Linked DNA regions of Homo sapiens: region 1 is linked to region 2. Evidence: promoter capture Hi-C in 16 types of primary human blood cells and fetal thymus (Javierre and others, 2016). All regions are on one chromosome and are shown on one strand. Each heading gives the region's core, a stretch centred on a gene start or on the middle of the fragment in contact. The rest is flanking DNA. Distances are from core to core; before and after follow the strand shown.

Region 1 (3,686 bases), core at 958-3,457, 2.5 Mb after region 2:
AGCCGAGCATGGTGGTGCATGCCTGTACTCCCAGCCACTTGGGAGGCTGAGGTGAGAGGATCACTTGATCCCAGGAGTTCGAGGCTATAGTAAGCTATAATTGTGCCACTGCGTTCCAGGCTGGGCAATAGAGGGAGGCCCCATCTCTAAACATAAAACAAAAGCAAATAAAAAGGAGAAATTAAAATAAAATAAAGTAAAATTGCTTCTACTTTTAAGGATGATCTGGAATGTTCCTTTTCATAGGTGGCATGTGTTTTGAGAGATAGCGAGAGAGAGATTGATTGATCCACGTCAGGAATGCCCTCCCTTTTACTCCATCCTCCACGGCCCTGCTTAAATCCCAGTTAATTCCATGACATCTTCTGTGCTTACTCTACTTCAAAGTGATTTCTCTCTCTCTTTCTCTTCAAATGGCTTTTTATTGTTCACTGCTATGCTAGTGATTTGAAAGACCAGGTGACCTCTCACCCGTGATGGAGCTTTTGTACAGCAGAGCTGTGCTTTATACAGAATGATCAGCTACAAAGAGCTCTTAGGTGCGGCCCAGGCACAATGGCTCACGCCTGTAATCCCAACACTTTGGAAGGCCTAGGCGGGCAGATCACCTGAGGTTGGGAGTTCCAGGCCAGCCTGGCCAACAGGGATAAACCCCGTCTTTACTAAAAATACAAAATTAGCTGGGCGTGGTGGTGCATGCCTGTAATCCCAGCTACTCGGGAGGCTGAGGAAAGAGAATCGCTTGAACCTGGGAGGCAGCGGAGGTTGCAGTGAGCCGAGATGGCACCATTGCACTCCAGCCCGGGCAACAAGAGCGAAACTCCGTCTCAATAAAAAAAAAAAAAAAAAAAGAAAGAAAGAAAGAAAGAGAGAAAAGAAAAGAGTTCTTAGGTGTGAGGCCCTGCAAGGAGCAAATGGCCTGGGCTACCTTCACTGATGCCCTCAGCACCTTCTAAGGTGAGGCTAACACCAGCTCACATTGATGAGCTAGTGCTGGGCCTGGAGCAAAATGTGTATTTCATTTAAGCTGCCCACCAGCTTGTGAGGCAGGTGCATTACCGTGACGGCGGGGCTCCTCAGAGTGTGTATAAGAAGAAAACTGTGCATGGCCAAAGCTATGCTTGAAAACCCTCAGGAAGGCACCACCTCAAGGACCAACATAGCATCACTTAGTAAAGGCAACAGCCTTGGAACAGATGACTCGTGTGTGTGTGTGTGTGTGTGTGTGTGTGTGTGTGGCATTAGATGAAGTAGTAACTTGTGTTTAGAGGTTGCCTTATTGCACAAATATAGTTGCTTTTATACACTGGACTCACCCTCTGCCAATAAGTTGTTCAGTTATGAGAAATGAACAATGTCTGAAACTAAGAAAACAGCAAATTCTCACCTCCTATCTCCAGGGAATGTGCTCTTTGGCTAGAATATATGGCAGAATCAATAGTGAATAAAATATATTGTGGAAACAATAGTGAATGGAATATATGACACTACCAATAGCAATTGTTAAGTTTTTTTTCTTTTTAATTTTTCTTTTTAGGTTTGTCTAGTTGAATGCATCTAAGTTTTATGTGCATATGAAGAATCACTGTTTTCCTATTATACAGATTTGGAAACTGAGATTCCCAGCTTTTAACTCCTTGCCTAAGGTTGCATAGCACAGAAATAGTCATATCAGAAACTGAGCCCTGTCTGCACAGTGTAGCACCTTGTTCAGCCCTGGGTGCCTGACTCACTCACTCCTTGAGGACCCTCTCATGACAACTGTAAAGAGGCAGCTGAAAGAATCCCAGTCTTTGATGGTGGGAGGGGAAAGTGGTTGGAAAGCATTAAAAAAACATGCTCCAGCAGTTCACTGATGTGGGAAATTGTCTGTATTTCAGGTCAACCGTCAGGATAGATTTTGGTCTGCAAAGCCCCAGCTGAGCAAGAATGCAGTGTAGACATATGGGTGCCCAGAGTTTAAAGGAAAATTACTCAGACTCACATTGGAGTTTAAGACCCCTTCATTGCCTCTCCTACTGGGTTGGGGTGACTGGAGCCAGTGGGGAATTACCAACCCTGTGGCTCTCTCTGCATCTCAAGCCTCCAGAGCTGGGCTTCCTTGTTTACTTATTTAGAGCCCAGCAGAGGAAGTGGTAAAGGAAACTAGCTGAGTCGTTTTCTGAGAAGAGACCATATTTGTTCGCAGAGGAAGCCGTTGCTTTCTGGGATCTGGCTACGCCAGAAAAGACATCGGCTCCAACAGGGGTGTTCCACAGGGTAGCTGGGAGTTGGAAGAGCCAAGAACGCCTCCGAGCTCTGGATTTGAGCTTCTCTGCCCATGGGTGAAGCGCCCATGCTCAGCTTGTGAGCTTCTTCCCGGGAGAGCAGCCATGGCACTGAGGAATGTGCCCTTTCGCTCAGAGGTCCTGGGCTGGGACCCCGACAGCCTTGCTGACTATTTCAAGAAGGTAAGCCTTGCTCTTGTGTGAATGGTCATGATGCTAGTGCCCTTGGTGGGCTGAGCTGAGGCTTGACGATGGAATTGGGGCAGAATGTGGGAGGTGTATAAGATAGCAATGGAACCCTATGGCAACTTTACTGGTTGAGTGAGCGCCATATAGACCGCTGAGTTTTCCTGACCATGAGTTCCGGAGAGAAGGATGGGAGCAGAAGCCCTCAAATGAGTATGTGCCTATTATGTGCTAGGGTTTGAATTCGGTGTCTCACAGGCACTGTCCCATTTAGCGCTCCCTACTATGTTGTGAGGTCAGCATTGTTATCCCCTTGACTCAGCTGCAAAATCAGCTCAGGGAAGTGAAATGGTCCGAAGCCCTAGGGACTACATGTGATAGAGGCAAGACTCAAGCCACACCTATCTGGTTTTAAAGTCCATGCTCTGAGATGCAGAGAACTGTTGTAACTGCTAATGAGATCAACGCTACTTACTAGAAAGGGGAGACGTGGTGTCCTGGAGGCAGGAGAAAGAATAGGCAGGGTGGGAGGGCTGGATAGAGGACTATGATGAGCAGTGCCAGACACAGCATTTGGGCTTTCACTGCTCACGACCCTAAGGGGGGTCCTCAAGCTCCCGCCTGGGGCAGTCTCCTTGGAGCCTTATGAGAGTCTTGTGAAGCAGGACAGAAAACTGATGTGAGCCCCAATTTATAGCTATGAAAACTGAGGCCCCTAGAGGAAAAGAGGCTTGTGGCGGTGCTGGGACCAGAGCGTTGCTGTCTTATCTTCTGGACTTAGAGGAAAGGTTGAAGGATCCCTGTGCTTGGTCATTGGCAGAAGGGGACAACGCATCTGCTTGGGCAGATCTCAAGCCACATGACTTAGTTATAGTCCCTCTACCCTGACCATGTGGTAAGATGACTTGTGCGAGACGGTTAAGCTTCTAACACCCTCATCCCTGCAGGCTGGCATCGGATTCTGTTGATATTCCAGACTGTCATAAAGATGAGATTGTAAAGCTAAGATGGTAGAAGTCATCTAATTCAGCTTCGTGTTTTTCCTGGGGAAATTGAGATTCAAGAGGGTAGACGAGGTTCCCTAGGACGTATAGCCAAACCTGGGGTCTATGCATTTCCGAGGCATTTATAGTCACAGCTGTTCTCCCCCAACCTGAAGAAGAAAATGAGAACATGTTGAACTAGGTGTGGTATGGTAGGGGTACAGTTCACAGATCCTGTTTTTTGCCATAT
Region 2 (3,578 bases), core at 1-2,500:
CCGTCACTGGGACTCAGGGCACGGAGATCGCTGGGCGGGGCGGGGGTCTTCCCAAGTGTTGCGATCCAGGTCCTGGCAATCCGCCCACAATGGCCCGGGATTGGATTTTGCTTTCGGCCTATAACGGCCGCGACGACAGGGAGCGAGGGTTGTGGCCGGCTTCTGTTCCGGGTTGGAGGCCCCCAGCCCAGCGCTTAGTGGGCGCTCACTGTGTATACTGCCTATTTGTATAATAAAGAAAGGGATGGAGAAGCTCAGTCTGGAGCCAAGGTGACAGAAACGTGTCGGGCGGCCCCTGGGGGGCGCCGTCGAGTCGCGCTGCGGGTCGCCCCTCACCCCTCCAAACGCCAAACCCTGGAATCCACTGCGGGGCCTTGCGACCCCTCACCGGGATTTCAGCCCCCTGACCTGCCTCCCTTGGCTCCAAGTCTTCCGGGGGCCACAAGACTAGGAATAGCATTATTTCCCGGTGGGAGTTTGCTTGCTCACACTTTCATGGCAAATGTAGATATTTTAAAGCCACCTTAAAGAAAAGTCTGGGAAACAGGAAAGCATTGCCCTGAACCTCTCCGCCCCAACTCGCTCGAGTCGGTCTTGGTAGGGACGACTTTTCTATCGGCAGAGTTGTTCATTTTTCTCTAAACTTCATCTTAGGCGCCTATTTGCTGCCCCCACCCCAGTAGTGTGGTTCTGGGCAAGTCAGTCGCTTCGCCTGGGGAACCTCAGTTTCCCCGCCTGTTAGTGATGAGGAAATGAGGAAAAGGGGCACAAGAGTATGCAAAAGCACAGGAAGCCCCTTTCGGTTCAGGTCGGCGGCCGAGGGGCACGGGGAAGGGGACTCGGGGAGGGAGAGAGGGAGGAGCGGCGAGGCCAAGGCAGGTGGCACGTCGCCCGTTCTCCCGGCCGCTCGCATCCCGGAGGTCAGCCTCAGCTGGCAGCGAGCCCTCCTCCTCCCCGCTGGGCCTGGAGCGCGGCGCGGGTCCGGTCCCTGGGGACGCGCCAAGAGCAGGCCGGACAGCAGGGCGGGGGCCGGGCCGCGAGCCAGCGCGCGGCGAGCGGACCCAGCTCCGAGGCTGATGACGTCTCCCCCTCTGGCTCGGCGGCGCCTGGCCTGGCAGGGCGGGTGACGTCACCGCCCCGTCACGTGATCACCATTCAAACAAACACCCCCCCTCCCCCTGCGCGCGGGTCTGGCCCGCCCCGTCCCCCAGAGGCCGCATATAAACGCGCTCCCCGGGCCAGGCTCGCTGCGAAGGACATTTGGGCTGTGTGTGCGACGCGGGTCGGAGGGGCAGTCGGGGGAACCGCGAAGAAGCCGAGGAGCCCGGAGCCCCGCGTGACGCTCCTCTCTCAGTCCAAAAGCGGCTTTTGGTTCGGCGCAGAGAGACCCGGGGGTCTAGCTTTTCCTCGAAAAGCGCCGCCCTGCCCTTGGCCCCGAGAACAGACAAAGAGCACCGCAGGGCCGATCACGCTGGGGGCGCTGAGGCCGGCCATGGTCATGGAAGTGGGCACCCTGGACGCTGGAGGCCTGCGGGCGCTGCTGGGGGAGCGAGCGGCGCAATGCCTGCTGCTGGACTGCCGCTCCTTCTTCGCTTTCAACGCCGGCCACATCGCCGGCTCTGTCAACGTGCGCTTCAGCACCATCGTGCGGCGCCGGGCCAAGGGCGCCATGGGCCTGGAGCACATCGTGCCCAACGCCGAGCTCCGCGGCCGCCTGCTGGCCGGCGCCTACCACGCCGTGGTGTTGCTGGACGAGCGCAGCGCCGCCCTGGACGGCGCCAAGCGCGACGGCACCCTGGCCCTGGCGGCCGGCGCGCTCTGCCGCGAGGCGCGCGCCGCGCAAGTCTTCTTCCTCAAAGGTACGCCCTCGGGGAAGCTCGGGGCGGGCCGCACACCCCTGAGGTTTTGCCCGGTACCCCTGGCTCTCGGCTCCCGGGGGATCGCCCCACCTGCAGCGCGTGGGCGCTGGAGTACATTTATCTCTGGAACTTGTCATTGGCTTTGTTTGGCTCTGGAAACAAAGACTTGCCTGGGCCTTTCCGATGTAAACTTCCAGCCCTTGGTGGGTGGGGGAGTTGTATGAAGGTGCCGTGTCCCGGTGTCACTAATGGGGAAAAAAAATGTCTTTGTATTCCCAGGAGGATACGAAGCGTTTTCGGCTTCCTGCCCGGAGCTGTGCAGCAAACAGTCGACCCCCATGGGGCTCAGCCTTCCCCTGAGTACTAGCGTCCCTGACAGCGCGGAATCTGGGTGCAGTTCCTGCAGTACCCCACTCTACGATCAGGTTAGTAGGTGTCCCTGCCACAGGGAAGAAGTAAGAACTGGCAAAGGCATGGAAGAGTAGTGCCAGGGAGAATATAGAAAGTGACCTGCAGCATTATTTATAACGGAGGGGACACAGGGATATGATTTATTCCACAGTTAAGTGGTCTGACGGAGCCGAGTCTCCAATTGTAGGCTCTACGGAAATGAACTTGCTGGTCCTGCCCAGGCAAATGGGCTTAGTTCCCTATTTATTTATCCTCCAGCAACAGAACTGAGTTCACTCGGTATCTGAAATTGACTTTTCCAGCAGAAAGTTTTTGTGGGTATGGGCACTGGCCTTGGCTTTGAGCAAGCTTGATGAATGTTGGATATTTCTGGATTTCAGGGTGGCCCGGTGGAAATCCTGCCCTTTCTGTACCTGGGCAGTGCGTATCACGCTTCCCGCAAGGACATGCTGGATGCCTTGGGCATCACTGCCTTGATCAACGTCTCAGCCAATTGTCCCAACCATTTTGAGGGTCACTACCAGTACAAGAGCATCCCTGTGGAGGACAACCACAAGGCAGACATCAGCTCCTGGTTCAACGAGGCCATTGACTTCATAGGTAAATGGAATGGATGCCTGGGGCTTTTCTGCCTTTCTCTTCTCATTTTAGCCACTAAGCCCAACCTCTGTGGCAAGAGCTTGAAGTTTTCTGAGCCTTCTTCCACACATTCAGTATCAGTCTGGTGTGGGCAACATTCCTGTAAAATATGAATTTGATTCGATGTCCCACTTTACAGATTTGCAAAGTGGGGCTCACAAAGTTGAATTGACTGGTCTGAGATCTATCTGCTAAGTGGAAATCCCCAGTCTGAGTTTAAATCCTGTGCCATCCTTTGCACAGTGCCCACGTTGCCTCCATGAACAGTATCCATGTGATGGCATGTGGTGATGTTGACCATTTCTAGACAAGACACACATGACCTTTCTCAGATACACTGTACCTGGGCTTGGGGTGGTTCTCCTGAACTCTCAAGTAACCAGCCGCTCCTTTGGTTTTCCAGACTCCATCAAGAATGCTGGAGGAAGGGTGTTTGTCCACTGCCAGGCAGGCATTTCCCGGTCAGCCACCATCTGCCTTGCTTACCTTATGAGGACTAATCGAGTCAAGCTGGACGAGGCCTTTGAGTTTGTGAAGCAGAGGCGAAGCATCATCTCTCCCAACTTCAGCTTCATGGGCCAGCTGCTGCAGTTTGAGTCCCAGGTGCTGGCTCCGCACTGTTCGGCAGAGGCTGGGAGCCCCGCCATGGCTGTGCTCGACCGAGGCACC

The links. Contacts are between HindIII fragments. The CHiCAGO score rates a contact against its expected background, and 5 or more counts as called.
Region 1: a contact is called between the fragment with the promoter of LCP2 here and the fragment with the promoter of DUSP1 in region 2, in 2 of 17 cell types (activated CD4 T cells and non-activated CD4 T cells). The highest score is 7.8, in activated CD4 T cells.

Annotation. Positions count from the first base shown.
Region 1 is chr5:170,296,298-170,299,983 of GRCh38, reverse strand. It overlaps LCP2 (lymphocyte cytosolic protein 2), which reads left to right and starts at 2,207. Exons shown (of 21, transcript NM_005565.5): 1 at 2,207-2,450. The coding sequence starts at 2,373. RefSeq lists an enhancer at 3,025-3,104. The HindIII fragment of the contact is 7,744 bases long and covers 1-3,378 here.
Region 2 is chr5:172,768,867-172,772,444 of GRCh38, reverse strand. It overlaps DUSP1 (dual specificity phosphatase 1), which reads left to right and starts at 1,250. Exons shown (of 4, transcript NM_004417.4): 1 at 1,250-1,859; 2 at 2,139-2,284; 3 at 2,651-2,870; 4 at 3,313-3,578. The coding sequence starts at 1,493. LOC105377730 (a long non-coding RNA gene) reads right to left here and starts at 234. Exons shown (of 3, transcript NR_188285.1): 1 at 1-234. RefSeq lists enhancers at 1-202, 1-239, 1-775, 240-1,001, 1,423-1,692 and 1 more and silencers at 803-1,252, 1,793-1,902. The HindIII fragment of the contact is 7,766 bases long and covers 1-2,620 here.